Linked DNA regions of Homo sapiens: all the other regions are linked to region 1. The links are contacts of gene promoters, found by promoter capture Hi-C in blood cells and fetal thymus (Javierre and others, 2016). All regions are on one chromosome and are shown on one strand. Each heading gives the region's core, a stretch centred on a gene start or on the middle of the fragment in contact. The rest is flanking DNA. Distances are from core to core; before and after follow the strand shown.

Evidence for each region. Contacts are between HindIII fragments. The CHiCAGO score rates a contact against its expected background, and 5 or more counts as called.
Region 2: the fragment with the promoter of IRF2BP1 here is called in contact with the fragment with the promoter of TRAPPC6A in region 1 in 1 of 17 cell types (naive CD4 T cells); the score reaches 7.0 in naive CD4 T cells.
Region 3: the fragment with the promoter of MYPOP here is called in contact with the fragment with the promoter of TRAPPC6A in region 1 in 1 of 17 cell types (naive CD8 T cells); the score reaches 5.6 in naive CD8 T cells.
Region 4: the fragment with the promoter of QPCTL here is called in contact with the fragment with the promoter of TRAPPC6A in region 1 in 1 of 17 cell types (monocytes); the score reaches 5.9 in monocytes.
Region 5: the fragment with the promoter of FBXO46 here is called in contact with the fragment with the promoter of TRAPPC6A in region 1 in 1 of 17 cell types (non-activated CD4 T cells); the score reaches 6.1 in non-activated CD4 T cells.

The regions. Positions count from the first base shown.
Region 1 is chr19:45,176,870-45,179,569 of GRCh38, reverse strand. TRAPPC6A (trafficking protein particle complex subunit 6A) reads left to right here and starts at 1,333. Exons shown (of 6, transcript NM_001270891.2): 1 at 1,333-1,435. The coding sequence starts at 1,352. BLOC1S3 (biogenesis of lysosomal organelles complex 1 subunit 3) reads right to left here and starts at 786. Exons shown (of 2, transcript NM_212550.5): 1 at 739-786; 2 at 1-282. The coding sequence starts at 273. RefSeq lists silencers at 1-189, 1,360-1,579 and enhancers at 540-859, 930-999, 1,012-1,955. The HindIII fragment of the contact is 3,392 bases long and covers 1-1,911 here.
Region 2 is chr19:45,884,706-45,887,405 of GRCh38, reverse strand. IRF2BP1 (interferon regulatory factor 2 binding protein 1) reads left to right here and starts at 1,265. Exons shown (of 1, transcript NM_015649.3): 1 at 1,265-2,700. The coding sequence starts at 1,632. RefSeq lists enhancers at 441-490, 551-790, 941-1,090 and silencers at 1,251-1,730, 1,771-2,010. The HindIII fragment of the contact is 4,343 bases long and covers 1-2,700 here.
Region 3 is chr19:45,901,235-45,903,934 of GRCh38, reverse strand. MYPOP (Myb related transcription factor, partner of profilin) reads left to right here and starts at 1,322. Exons shown (of 3, transcript NM_001012643.4): 1 at 1,322-1,365; 2 at 2,110-2,660. The coding sequence starts at 2,162. RefSeq lists silencers at 630-709, 1,270-1,319 and enhancers at 970-1,079, 1,510-1,559. The HindIII fragment of the contact is 7,646 bases long and covers 1-2,700 here.
Region 4 is chr19:45,691,416-45,694,115 of GRCh38, reverse strand. It overlaps QPCTL (glutaminyl-peptide cyclotransferase like), which reads right to left and starts at 1,450. Exons shown (of 7, transcript NM_017659.4): 1 at 1,206-1,450; 2 at 560-703. The coding sequence starts at 1,412. SNRPD2 (small nuclear ribonucleoprotein D2 polypeptide) reads left to right here and starts at 2,163. Exons shown (of 3, transcript NM_001384647.1): 1 at 2,163-2,229. The coding sequence starts at 2,228. RefSeq lists enhancers at 743-1,293, 1,819-1,948, 1,959-2,088, 1,907-2,627. The HindIII fragment of the contact is 1,670 bases long and covers 373-2,042 here.
Region 5 is chr19:45,729,477-45,732,176 of GRCh38, reverse strand. FBXO46 (F-box protein 46) reads left to right here and starts at 1,281. Exons shown (of 2, transcript NM_001080469.2): 1 at 1,281-1,328. RefSeq lists enhancers at 954-1,083, 1,174-1,283 and a silencer at 2,132-2,426. The HindIII fragment of the contact is 3,315 bases long and covers 1,180-2,700 here.

The sequences.
Region 1 (2,700 bases), core at 84-2,583:
CTCCGCCGATTCCCGCTGCACCACGAGTGGAGGCAGGTCCCTCGGCGCGGCCGTCGGTTCCGGCTCCGGCTCCGGCTCCGAGTCGGTCTCCGCGGCTTCCCCAGCCACCCGCAGCCCCGTGGGGCGGCCGCGCGTCGGGCCCGAAGGACCCAGGTACAGCTCCTCCTCCTCCGACGAGGACGCAGAGCGCTCGGAATCCGTCTCGGTCGCCTCCCCCGGCACCACCGTCTCCGGCCTCCGCAGGGGCCTCCGCCGACGACCCTGGGACGCCATGGCACCGAACTAGGGGAGAAGAGCGAAGGGACTGCACGTGAGACCGGCGCCGCGGTGGGTAAAAGGCGCAGGTCCTGGATTCCCAGCCCCTTCGCTGATTCTCTTAACGACTTGGTGTCAGCTGCTCCCCGTCTGGGCCTCAGTTTCCTCTTCTGTAAACTGGGTGATGATGGGGGTTACTGGACCCCAGGCTCTTCAGCGTACAGATGGGGAAACTGAAGACCAGCTCGAACAAGGATCTGGGGCCCGAGTTCCCGGAGTCCCAAGCCGAGGTCTTTACGAATTTGCCTCCTAGTAGAGGCCACACCCTCCACCTGGTCCACCATGCCAATCTCAGACCCGGAAGCACACGGGCCCGTGAGCTGCTCGGGACCAGCGCCAGAGTCGCAGAAAGGATGACAGTCCGACTGGACTCTGCTGGGGGCACTCATGGGATGGGAGAAGCGCTAACGCCAAAGACCGTACCCGGCAGCTGACGCTCGGAGCTTGCGAGATCCGCTTCCTAACCCGAGTGCTGCGTTCTCACCGTGGCAGCTGAAGGGCTGTGATTTCAACCAATAGGGGAGCGGGTTGGGCGGGCATTAGCGGCCAAGTCACGTGGATTCGCCCGGCTACCAATCAGGAAGCAAGTTCTCAGCATCAGCTTTGAGTGAGCGTGCAGAAGAGTCACATGAATGGAGGAACCGCCAATAGAGAAACAGCTGGGCCGGCTCTTCCAGGTTGTGCGACGAGGAAAGTCTGGAGTGGACCAATAGGGATTTTAAAAGCCGAGTATGTCACGTGTAACCAGTAATTTGGCCAATAGGAATGCTCGAGAACCCGGAAATAGGGAAGGGACGGCAGTAAGAGCAGAAGATGTTGCCACATGTGGCCAGAGAAGGCGTAGGCCCGCCCCCTAGTGTCCCAGGCTCACGCGCACACCACCTGAGTCCGGGGCGGGGAGGCGGGGCTAGTCTAAAACACCAATGGAAGCCGGAGTAGGAGGGCTCGCGCCATGACGCAAGAGGCGTGGCTTACCAAGCCTGGCCAATGAGAGCTGGAAGCGCTGGGCGCATCTTTAGGCGTGCGAGGAGGGGGCATGGCGGATACTGTGTTGTTTGAGTTTCTTCACACGGAGATGGTGGCTGAGCTGTGGGCTCACGACCCCGACCCCGGCCCGGGGGTGAGCGCCGGGCTCCGTGGGGAGGAAGCGGGGGCCACCAAGGTAACGCCTCTGGGAGAGCGGAGGGCGCGTCAGGCGTCCGGGTTCGAACCCGGCCCAGCCCCGGCCTTGCAGGGCAACGTCTGGCCCTGGCTTCCTCCTTTGGAAAGTGGCGTTCGCGACGGTGCCGGCTCGGGGTTATTGCTAAATTGAGCGCGATGATTCAGGGTAAAGCACTTAGCTCAAGGCCTGAGTAAGCGGCTAGTAATCATAATAATGCTGTTATTGGGCGTGTGCTGAGGACTCGCCTCCCCCACTTACTAGGTGTGCGACCCAATGACTTAATCTTTGTGTGTCCTAGTTTTCTCTTTTGTAAAATGAGTATCATAACGTACCTAAGCCTCAGCGTGGGACATTTATTTATTCGACACCCACTTATTGAGCGTCTGTTGTATTCCAGGCACCGTTCTAAGACAGAATCCCTTCCTTGTGAAGCTTACATTTCACTAGGGGAGTCAAATAATAAAATGAAATATGCCGGCTGGGCGCTGTAGCTCCCAGCACTTTGGGAGGCCGAGGCCGTCGGATCACCTGAGGTCAGGAGTTCAAGACCAGCCTGGCCATGGTGAAACCCCGTGTCTACAAAAATTAGCCGAGCATGATGGCGGGTACCTGTAATCCCAGCTACTCGGGAGGCTGAGACAGGAGAATGGCTTGAACCTGGGAGGCGGAGGTTGCAGTGAGCCAAGATTGTGCCATTGCACTCCAGCCTAGGCGACAGAGCGAGACTTGTCTCAGGAAAAAAAAAAAAGAGATAATGGGGTTTTGCCATGTTGCCTAGGCTGGTCTTGAACCCCTAGGCTCAAGTGATTCTCCCGCCTGGGCCTCCCAAAGTGCTAGGATTACAGGCGTGAACTACCGTGACTGGCCCGGGACTGTGTGTGTGTGTGTGTGTGTGTGTGTGCGCGCACGCGCATCCTGCTCGGTCGCCCAGGCTGGCTGGAGTGCAGTGATGCAGTCATGGCTCACTGCTGCCTCGACCTCCTGGGCTCAAGCGATCATCCCACTTCTCAGCCTCCCAAGTAGCTGGGACCACAAGCGCTGCTGGCGCCACCACACCTGGCTAATTTTTTGTATTATTATTATTTTTTTTAGTAGAGACGGGTTTTCACTGTTAGCCAGGATGGTCTCCATCTTCTGACCTCGTGATCTGCCCATCTTGGCCTCCCAAAGTGCTAGGATTACAGGCGTGAGCCACTGCACCCGGCCAATTTTTTTTTTTTTTT
Region 2 (2,700 bases), core at 16-2,515, 710 kb before region 1:
CTGGGTAACAGAATCAGAGCTGCTGCGGTTCCAGTGGGACGGGAGGAGAAGGGACAAGCAGCCCCTCACTAGACAAAACCAGGGCCAACTGGTACGTCATTCAAATATTTTTGAGCACCTAACACGGACCCAGGCCTAGAGAAAGGGGCTGTTGTGGGTTGGAACCTGGAGACCCGCCTCCGCCCTTCCCCAAAGACAGCCTCGTCCAGTTCCCAATGCCTGGGAAAGAAGAAGGGTCCTCACAGCCTGATTGGGCCTTCCAGGTAGTGAGCGCTCAAGGTTGGGGAAAGGTTGGTCTGGTGTTTGCCCTTCCCCAGCAACTCCCTCCTCTTGCCCGTCACTTCTTAACCCCTTACTCTTCCCTCAAACTGGGGAGCAACAGAAGATAAGGGTCCCCCAAACGCCACGCTCCGAATGCACGTAAAGAGCCCCCAGAAAAGTGGGGGGGCGGGGGGTAGCCGGGAAAGTAGCGTGAATCTGGAAGGCCTCCCCAAACCTCCCAGAGGGCGGAAGTGCGTCACTATGTCCGACCCGCAGTGCATTTTGGGAATTGTAGTGAAGCGGGTGGGGGACGCCGAGCCCCCGATGGTGTAACCCTTTAGAGACCAGAGCGCGCGGGCAGAGCTGGGACAGGGTTAGAGGGCGGCCAGTCGCCCCACTCTTTTAGCAGAGAAACAACTGAGACAAGGCTCTGGCTCGGAAGCCCTTAGTCCTCTCCCTTCTCTGGCTGTGGCGGGCCCCAGAAGCATATATCTAGGATTCCGGGGGGAGGACGAAGTGCCAGGTGGCCACCCCCACCCCCACCTAGTTGCCAGCTTCCCGTCCCTGCTCTGAAGCCAATCAGGGCTTCTCCGCCCCGCCCCAGAAGCTGCTACTTTCCTAATCCGTCATTGGCCCACCTTTGCTGGGCGGGGAAACTGAGGTTCAGAGAGGGCAAGACATTTTGCCTAAAGCTGCACAGCAAATCCGAGCAGAAGTTGGAAGCCCGGAAGCCTGTCCACCCACCCCCACAATTTCTGAATCCGGAGTAGCTCTGATCATTTGTATTGCATCCTCGCCTACCACCTTTGTGTCCCAGCATCTTGCGGCGCGCTGAACTCCGGCCCCACGGAGAAGGTTGTAAGGTTTGCGCCGGCAGAGGCGACAACCCCCCCAGCCCGCGTCTGCCCGCCGTTCCCTTTAAGAGCCGGCCCCGGCGGGACTACGTTTCCCAGAAGGCTTTGCAGGCGTGTTATGTAACTTTCCCTGCGAAGCGGCCTCTGGGGCAGAAGAAGGAGGTGGAGGCGGCGGCGGCCGTTGCAGCGGCGGCGGCGAGAGCGGCGGGAGCCCGAGGCGGCGGCGCTCGCGGCCCATCGTGGGGCCCGAGCTGTGCGCCTCGGCTCGGAGCCCGGACCGGGCGGGGGCGCCGACGTGCCTCAGCCTGCCTTCGCGAGGGAGGCGGGAGTGAGCAGAAAGGCTTAGGGCCCAGGGGGCGGGGAAGGGGGGCCGGGCCTGGATCCGGCGGGGAGGCCGAGCCGGAGGCCGGACCGTGGCTCGCGCTGTCCCCGGGACGCGGATCGAACGTTGGCGGCGCGGATCGCACGTCGGCGGCCGGTGGAACGCGGGAGCTGGGCGGCGCGCGGACTGGGGCCATGGCGTCTGTGCAGGCGTCCCGCCGCCAGTGGTGCTACCTGTGCGACCTGCCCAAGATGCCGTGGGCCATGGTGTGGGACTTCAGCGAGGCCGTGTGTCGCGGCTGCGTGAACTTCGAGGGCGCGGACCGCATCGAACTGCTCATCGATGCCGCCCGCCAGCTCAAGCGCAGCCACGTGCTCCCCGAGGGCCGCTCGCCCGGGCCCCCGGCCCTTAAGCACCCGGCCACCAAGGACCTGGCGGCGGCAGCCGCACAGGGGCCCCAGCTGCCGCCCCCGCAGGCCCAGCCCCAGCCGTCAGGGACCGGCGGCGGCGTGTCGGGCCAGGACCGCTATGACAGGGCCACATCATCAGGCCGCCTCCCCCTGCCCTCGCCCGCCCTGGAGTACACTCTGGGGTCCCGCCTGGCCAATGGGCTGGGCCGTGAGGAGGCCGTGGCTGAGGGGGCGCGAAGGGCCTTGCTTGGCTCCATGCCTGGCTTGATGCCCCCTGGGCTGCTGGCAGCTGCAGTGTCTGGCCTGGGAAGCCGAGGCCTGACGCTGGCACCCGGCTTGAGTCCTGCCCGTCCCCTCTTCGGCTCCGATTTCGAGAAAGAGAAGCAGCAGAGGAATGCGGACTGTCTGGCAGAACTGAACGAGGCCATGCGAGGCCGGGCAGAGGAATGGCACGGGCGCCCCAAAGCAGTGCGGGAACAGCTACTGGCGCTGTCCGCCTGCGCCCCGTTCAATGTGCGCTTCAAGAAGGATCACGGGCTGGTGGGGCGAGTGTTCGCCTTCGATGCTACTGCCCGTCCTCCAGGATACGAGTTCGAGCTGAAGCTCTTCACCGAATACCCCTGTGGTTCCGGCAATGTGTACGCCGGCGTCCTGGCAGTGGCTCGCCAGATGTTCCACGATGCTCTGCGGGAGCCGGGCAAGGCACTGGCTTCTTCGGGCTTCAAGTACCTCGAATATGAACGCCGGCATGGATCAGGAGAATGGCGGCAGCTGGGCGAGCTGCTTACCGACGGCGTCCGCAGCTTCCGCGAGCCAGCTCCCGCGGAGGCCCTGCCCCAGCAGTACCCAGAGC
Region 3 (2,700 bases), core at 73-2,572, 720 kb before region 1:
GGCTCAAGCGATCCTCCCGCCTCAGCCTCCCAAGTAGCTGGGACTACAGGCATGTATTTTTTTTTTTTTTTTTTTTGAGACGGAGTCTCACTCTGTCGTCCAGGTGGAGTGCAGTGGTGCAATCTCAGCTCACTGCAACCTCTGCCTCCCGGGGTTAAGCGATTCTCGTGCCTCAGCCTCCCGAGTAGCTGGGATTACAGGCATGCACCACCATGCCCAGCTAGTTTTTGTATTTTCAGTAGAGATGGGGTTTCACTGTGTTGGCCAGGCTTGTCTCGAACCCCTGACCTCAGGTAATCCGCCCGCCTTGGCTTCCCAAAGTGCTGGGATTACAGGCGTGAGCTCCACCGCGCCCGGCCCAGGCTACGGATTTTAGCTTTTATGTTCATTGTACCAGGAACTGTGTAAGTGCTCATGTATATTTATTGAGTCGATGAATGAAGCACCAATTGTCGAATGACCTTGAGGACTCCTGCAGGATGCTAACGAACACACTTCTCAGCCGGACTGAGCTCCATCATCCTGCCATGCGGCTCACCCCACCTGCGTTCTGGCTTCATTCCTGTCTCCATGCACTTGCTTAAAGTCGTGCCGGCGTCAGGATCTCCCTTCCTACCAGCCAGGAAGCTCTTCCCTCTTATTTTCCCCGCTCCTCGAGGTAAAGGTGCGCACAGAGGGGCCCCCAAGGCGTGACTGGAAGGCTTGTGGGTCGCTATGGTTACTGCATCCGCCCGGGGCGGGACATCCCCAGGACGCCCAGCCTCTAGGGGTGCGAGGTGGGAAGCTCTGGAGCGGCCCAGCGCAGGGGCGGGCAAGCCAGGAGGCAAAGCGGTTTCCTCACGCCTCCACCCCACCCACACAGTTGTCAAGGAGACAAAGCGCTTCCCTTCAGCGCTGTCTCCCTCCCCTTTGGTTAGAGGGCAGGGTGGGCTGGAAGACTGTCCGAAAGGTTGGGTACTGGCGCGCTCCCAGCATCTCTCCCATCCAAGCTCGCAACGCCTGCGCCGAGACCCGGTACCGGGTACAACCCGAGGCACGCGCATGCGCGCGATGGAGTTTTTGCGCGTGCGCCGTTGTGGCCCCAGGAAGCTGGGGTACCCGCGCGGCGCTAACGTTGCGGCTGCGCAGTTGCGGCCTGCTGGTGGGGCTCGGCGGAGCGCAGTTCTGCGCCTGCGCTGTGCTGGGGTAGGTGGGAATGAAACCCTGGCGGTAAGGGCATTGGGGCCGACTGGCCCTGGGCGCGCCTGCGCCTTGGCATGCGGGGCGGCCGGAGGCGGGGCCGAAAGAGGGGAGGGAGGGAGGCGGGGGGTGGGAACAGGCCGCAGAAGCCCGAGCCCTGACCCACCGGCGGCTGCGGCGGAGCCGGTGAGTGACCCGTGGCCCGACTCGGTCCCCACCCTCCGCGACCTTCGCTCTCCCTGCCGTCCCCCGTAGCCTCCGTTGTCTCCTTGTGATACGGGACCCCCGTTATTTCCAGAGCTCCCCTTAATTTCTGGCAATCCCCAGAGCCCCCACAATCCTCGCAGACCCTGATCCCTAATATTTGATCGTTCCAGCTCTTCCAGTGATACAGGAGCTCCCACCTCACCATTATTCCTGGACATCCCTCTAAGGGCCCTTCTCATATCGGTCTTACAGACGCCCCGTTGCCCCCTAGAGCCCCTAGAGCGCCTCCTCTGCTCCAGATTCCCCCCTTCTTGCTGCATCCCCCCTTCCGCATCTCCTTATCTTCATGCATCTAAGACCCCCCCGAGGCACCCCCATCCTCCCTCCATTTCCTATCCTCCCGTGCCCCCATTCTCTAACTCCTGCAGACACCTCCTCTCCTCGCACTTTTCCTCCTTTCCTTCCATCCCTCCAGACCCTCCCCCAATTTCTATCAACTCTTCAGCGTGGCACTTCGCGCCGCGCGAAGTCCGAGCCAAGCGCTCAGCCGGTGTCAGCTACTCTTAGGCGCTTCCGACTTACCCGGGTGCCCGTCGCCCCCGCCCGCCCCCCGCCCCCACTCCTGCCCCCGGGGACTAAGGAGCTCTCGGCCCGGCGGTCTGGGAGAGGCGGCGGCGGGGGGACCCCGAACCCCAGCCAGCCCCGTGCGCCCTTTGCCCGCAGCGCCGGCGCCCCCCATGCGCCAGACGGCAGGACGGCGGCGTCGGGGGGCGCCATGGCCTCGGCGGCGGCGGGCGAAGCGGAGGAAACCACCCGGTTGCGCAAGCCGCGCTTCTCATTCGAAGAGAACCAGATCCTGATCCGCGAGGTGCGCGCCCACTACCCGCAGCTCTACGGCGCGCAGAGCCGTCGGGTGAGCGTGGCAGAGCGGCGGCGCGTGTGGGACGGCATCGCCGCCAAGATCAACGGTATCACCAGCTGGAAGCGCACGGGCCAGGAGGTGCAGAAGCGCTGGAACGACTTCAAGCGCCGCACCAAGGAGAAGCTCGCTCGCGTGCCGCACTCCACGCAGGGCGCCGGGCCCGCCGCGGAGGACGCTTTCTCCGCGGAAGAGGAGACCATTTTTGCCATCCTGGGGCCAGGTGTGGCGGCGCCGGGGGCAGGTGCTGGGGCGGAGGAGCCCCCTGCGGCCCCCTCTTCACAGCCGCCGCCCCCAAGCGCCTGCCCTCAGCGCTACGTGTTGTCGGAAGACCGCCGGGAGGACCGACGTGCAGGTGAGTGTCTTCAGAGTAGGCTGTGTGCCTGCGCTGTTGC
Region 4 (2,700 bases), core at 201-2,700, 510 kb before region 1:
GAACCACTGCGCCTGGCCTTTAAATGACTCTTCATGCTTTCTGGAAGACAACAGATACATTACAGCACCAGCTCGGAGCCAACCTGTTTGGGTTCAACTCTAGGTCTATGATTTTCTAAACATTGGGTCTCACTAGGTTGACTAGGCTAGTCTCAAACTTCTCAGGTGATTCTTCCACCTTGGCTTCCCAAAGTGCTGGGATTACAGGCATGAGCCACTGCACCCGGCTAAGGTCTACTACTTATTATCTGTAGGATTTGTGCAATGTGTATAACCTCTCTGAGCCTCAGTTTCCCCATCTGCATAATGAAGATCATATTGGTACCCACCTTATAGGGCTGTCTGTTGCCTATGCCTAGCACACAGTAAGCTTTTGGTGGGGGCATTAAGGGGGGCAGTACAGCCTGGTGGTTTGTTACCAGCATGGAGTCTAGAGTCCGATTAACTCCAGTCAGAGCCCCAGTTCCTCCTCTTAGCTTCTTTGGGATCTTGAACAGGATTCTTATTTCCCATTCCCTGGAGGGCTAGGGGGTCAGGGACTGGAGGTGGGTCCCTTTACCTTTCTGACTTGGAGATTTCCCGGGCTGCCCGGGGTTCGCACAACCAGCAGGGGGCGCAGATAAGTGCTCCAGAGACGCTGTGGATCCAGTTGTCCCACCACCCTCCGCAGCCGGGCTTCGGGGAGGCTTCCGATCAATGGGACCTTGGGAAGGAGGTGGGATAGGGAAGGGAAGAATGAGAGCAACCCCCCCATTTCAACCCTACCCCGGGCGCCGTCACCCGCGAGGAGCCCCGGGTTCTCTTCCTAATCTGCCGCCTCCAGCATCGGAGACTTCTAGGATAAATCCAAGGCTCAGGAAAAGTCCTTCCAAGACCATCCGGTCCAGCCTACCTCAAACTTGATGGGGAAATCGAGGCCCAGTGAGAGAGAGGGGAGATGGAGGAAGGGACTCTTCCAAATAGTTGACTAAAGGCGTAGAACCCTGAACCCCCCCGTCTTACTATTTCAGACCTTTCCTCTTAAAAGGAAGCTACTGTTGCAGAACCAGCCCGAAGCCTTATTCCTTTGGTAAGGGTCATGCGCTCAGATGACGAAGACGGTGGCATCTGCGGTTAGGGCCGTACGCTAAAGCCACGTCAACCCTGGGTAACAGCGGGGAGGGAATGAGGGTCCCCGCGGTGCCCGGGTCCCCGCCCAGCCTCACCCGCAGCTCCCGGCCCAGCGGCAGCTCCTCAGTCCTGCGGTGCCAGCCGCTCCAAATGGTGTAGAACGCCGAGCCCACGGCCAGCGCCAGCAACAGAGGCAAGAGCCGAACCCGCGGTAGCAGGCGGCGCTTCGGCGGCAAGAGTGGCTCCATGAGGCCACGTTCCCCCAGCCGCAGGCGGGGTCGCCCGCGGCCCCCGGAACGCATGGCCGCTTTGCCCTGAAACCTGTACCAGACCACGGATTGAGTTTAGGCCCAGCCAAGTTCCTCCCCATGGAATCGGTGGGCCAATAAGCAACAGCTGCGGCTGCACCAGCCCACCCCACAGCGAGCAGCGAAACCAATAAGAACTACGGTCCTGAGGACACGCCTCCCAGCCTCCCTTAGGTATTGGGGTTGGTTCCCCTGAGAATGGCACGACCCAAATGGGAGCGCAAGAGAAGTAGGCTCCGCCTTAGCGGAGGAGGGAAAGCCAATGAACAGCGTTTGATCATGGAAAATATTCGATCTCCCGGGCGCAGGTCCATGCCCCTTCCGGATGTAGGCAGGGGATTGGTGGCGCAGGGTCGGAAAGATCAGTAGATACGTCAGTAACGCGTCCCAGAGGGAAGAGGGGCGGTGCCTGTCTCCGAAGCGAGGAGCGGATTGGCTTCACGGAGGCCGCGCCCCCGAAGTCACGGCCGGCGGGCATTTGGAAATAGCTTGTCATTTCCCTCCTTCAACCTGTACCATTCTTCAAGAAACGGTTTGAATCAGACTGCCTTTCCTTTTGTCTTCATTGTCATAAACATCTGCCCCCGTGTGGTTCTGACTGGCCGCGAACCCCTACCCGAAGCTTTTATTCCATCATTGTGCACCGTTGGTGGGGAATGCTGTGGCAACAGGCCACGCCTCCACTTACTGGTTGGCTTTGCGCAGGCGCCAACGGAAGTGGGTCGCAGGAAGAGGAAGTCCCGCCTCTCTCTCCTCAGGCAGCAGCAACGCGGAGGAAACGGGAGTGAACGGAGAGCGTAGTGACCATCATGTGAGGCCGGGCTAGGCTTAGGCGGCGGGAATGAGGTTGAGGGTGGATATTTGACCGATTGAGTGTGGGAAGGGTTGAGCAGAGCGGGGGGGGCAGGGGCAGATGTTTTAGGGATGCAGCGTCCTGCTTTTCTCCTGATGAGTTTGAGAACGGGCGTGGGGCCTTTGACGCATCGTGACTTCGGGAGAGGGGACAGCTTTATCAGATAACGCCCTGGGCTGGGCGCGGGGGCTCATTCCTGTGATCCCAGCACTTTAGTAGGCCAAGGCGGAGCATCGCTGGAACACAGGAGTTCGAGACTAGCCTAGGCAACATAGCGAGACCCCCGTCTCTACAAAAAAAAAAAAAAATTTAATTATGAAAAACATGTTTTAAACGATAACGGGAGTGGTCCTAGATAATTAGTCCTATTGAAATGAATGTTAAGGGGCAGCGATTTTACGAATACTGGGGGAGGCCGAGCGCGGTGGC
Region 5 (2,700 bases), core at 32-2,531, 550 kb before region 1:
TACACAAAGATCTCTGCCCTCCTGGAGCTTCTTCTTCTTCTTCTTCTTTTTTTTTTTTTTGAGACGGAATCTCGCTCTGTCCCCCAGGCTGGAGTGCAGTGGCGCGATCTCGGCTCACTGCAAGCTCCGCCTCCTGGGTTCACGCCATTCTCTTGCCTTAGCCTCCCGAGTAGCTGGGACTACAGGCACCCGCCACCCAGCCCGGCTAATTTTTTGTATTTTTAGTAGAGATGGGGTTTCAGTGTGTTAGCCAGGATGGTCTTGATCTCCTGACCTTGTGATCAGCCCGCCTCGGCCTCCCAAAGTGCTGTGACTACAGGCGTGAGCCACCGCGCCCGGCCTTCTTTTATTTTAAGAGGCAGCAGGGTCTCATTCTGTCGCCCAGGCTGAACTGCATGGAGGGCGGTGGTGTAACACTAGCTCACTGCCTCGAACTCCTGGGCTCGAGCGATGTGGAGCTGCTATTCTATGATGTGGACTAACTCCTAATGTATGGGACTTTCCTTCCTCCTAAGGCTTAATTTTCTCATTTGTAAATCAGGAGGTAAGAAAGGAGGGGACGGGCCGGGCGCGGTGGCTCACGCCTGTAATCCCAGCACTTTGGGAGGCCGAGGCGGGTGGATCATGAGGTCAGGAGTTCAAGACCAGCCTGACCAACATGGTGAAACTCCGTTTTTACTAAAAATACAAAAACTAGCCGGGCGTGGTGGCGGGCTCCTGTAATCCCAGCTACTCAGGAGGCTCAGGCAGGAGAATCGCTTGAACCCAGGAGGCGGAGGTTGCAGTGAGCCGAAATTGCGCCACTGCACTCCAGCCTGGGTGACAGAGCAAGACTCCGTCTCAAAAAAAAAAAAAAAAAGAAGGGGATGGATGGGAAGGAGTTTGGAAAAGCACAAGGAGCTGTTAGCTATTGTGTTGATCGGCACAAATGAATCAATAAATTTGCTCTTCCCCAACTCTCCACCCCTCACCAACACCCTATTGCAATATTCTCAATTCCCTTCCCAAGGGCCTCGGGCAAAAATGGAGCCCTCCTGGCTAGACTCCATCTCCCAGCGCGCCCAGCGGGGAAGCACCCTGCGCTTGCGCTGCCAAGTCCTCCCCGGCTTTGTCTCCCGGGAGTTCGAGTCGTTCTTTTCCTCCGCCCGCCTAATTTGCTTCCTACCCCACCTCCAAGCTTGACCGTGCTGCCTTCTGGGGGATGTAGTCCGTGGCTGCCCGGACTTCAATTCCCAGCGGGCTTCGGGACGAGAACCCGGAAGGGGAGGCTGGAGAGGAGCGAGTGGGGGAAACCCGCGTAGCCGAGGGAGATGCAGCGCGCGGCGATGGTGAGAGCCCAGGCGCGGGCCGGGGGCGCTGGAGAGTCGGGACGGGGGTTCGGGACCGGGTGACGAGGGGGAAGAGGCAGGGGCGAAAGAAGGGGCTGGGTGAGGGGAGATTGCCTGGGGGAGAGGACTGGGAGGAATGGGAGCCGGAGGTAGTAGTAGAAGAATGGTGGCTTGGGGAGGGGTCTTGGAGGTGGGGTGGGAGTGGAGCTTTGGAATTGATTGTAAAGGGGCTCAGAGCTGGGGAAGTGGGCCCCGAGTTGGAGACTGGGCTGGACATCCAGGTAGAGGCCCTGAAGGGGTCGATTTCGATGGGGGCTTAACCTGCGGCGAGGGTATGAGGATCAGGGTTAGGATGAGTGAGGGGGTCTGGAAGCTCCAAGGGACAGGCGAACGGTGGACGCAATGGGTTGGGGCCTCTGGATCGGATTGGGGGCAGGAAGGCAAGTTGAGGAGGTAGGAGGGAGAAATCAGTGGTAGGATAGAGTGTGGGTTTAGGCTCCAGGACTGAGGGTGGGGTAAGGAGCGTGAAATTAGGGGCCTGGATGTAGTGATAATTTCCCTAGTCCCGCCAGAGACTCCCGGTAAGCTGGACAGGCACAGAACTGTAGGATAATACGGCCAGAAAGGGCCATCGAGACAGGCTTTCGCACCCTCACTTCCCCGGTGGAATTTAGAAGAGTGTAATGGTTTATCCCTATGAGAAGTACAGCATTCATATCCCCTATTCTTCCACCCCTTTGTGCCATGGACAAATCTGTGAGCCTCAGTGCCCTTATCTGTAGTATGGGAACAGCAAGCATGCCTCTGAGAACAGGGTTAAAGGGAGTCATTAAAATCGTTACTATTAGTGGGAGAGCTGGGCTGTGAAGTTTCAGTCTCAGAGCTGTTGGTGGGAAGTTCTCCGCCCCCGGAATGTGACTGGGTTACAGGTGCTAATGGATTTCCTCCTTTCCAGTCCAGTCCCAGAGGCGTTTTCTCAAAAGCTGGCACTGATCTGGGCACACACCCCAGCTCAGAAGCATGTAGGGGCTCCCCACTGTGGATTACAGCTAACGCTTATTGTTTTACAAAATGCCTGGCCCTGTCCTTAGCTGTTTGTACACATTAACTCATTTAATTCTGATAACACCCCTGAGGGGTAGGTGCTGTTATTTTCTCCATTTTACAGAAAGGAAGCAGAAGTACAGAGAAATTAAGCAACTTTCCCAAGGCTATCCAGCATTAATTGCTAGACTCAGGATTCCGATCTTGGCAGCCTGGCTCAGAATCTGTGCTTTCAGCACTATAATTTAGTCCTCTCTCCATACTGAAATATACAATGTGATGAGTAGAGACAGCGAACAAAGCAGTCTAGAATATTAGTTCTGCCATT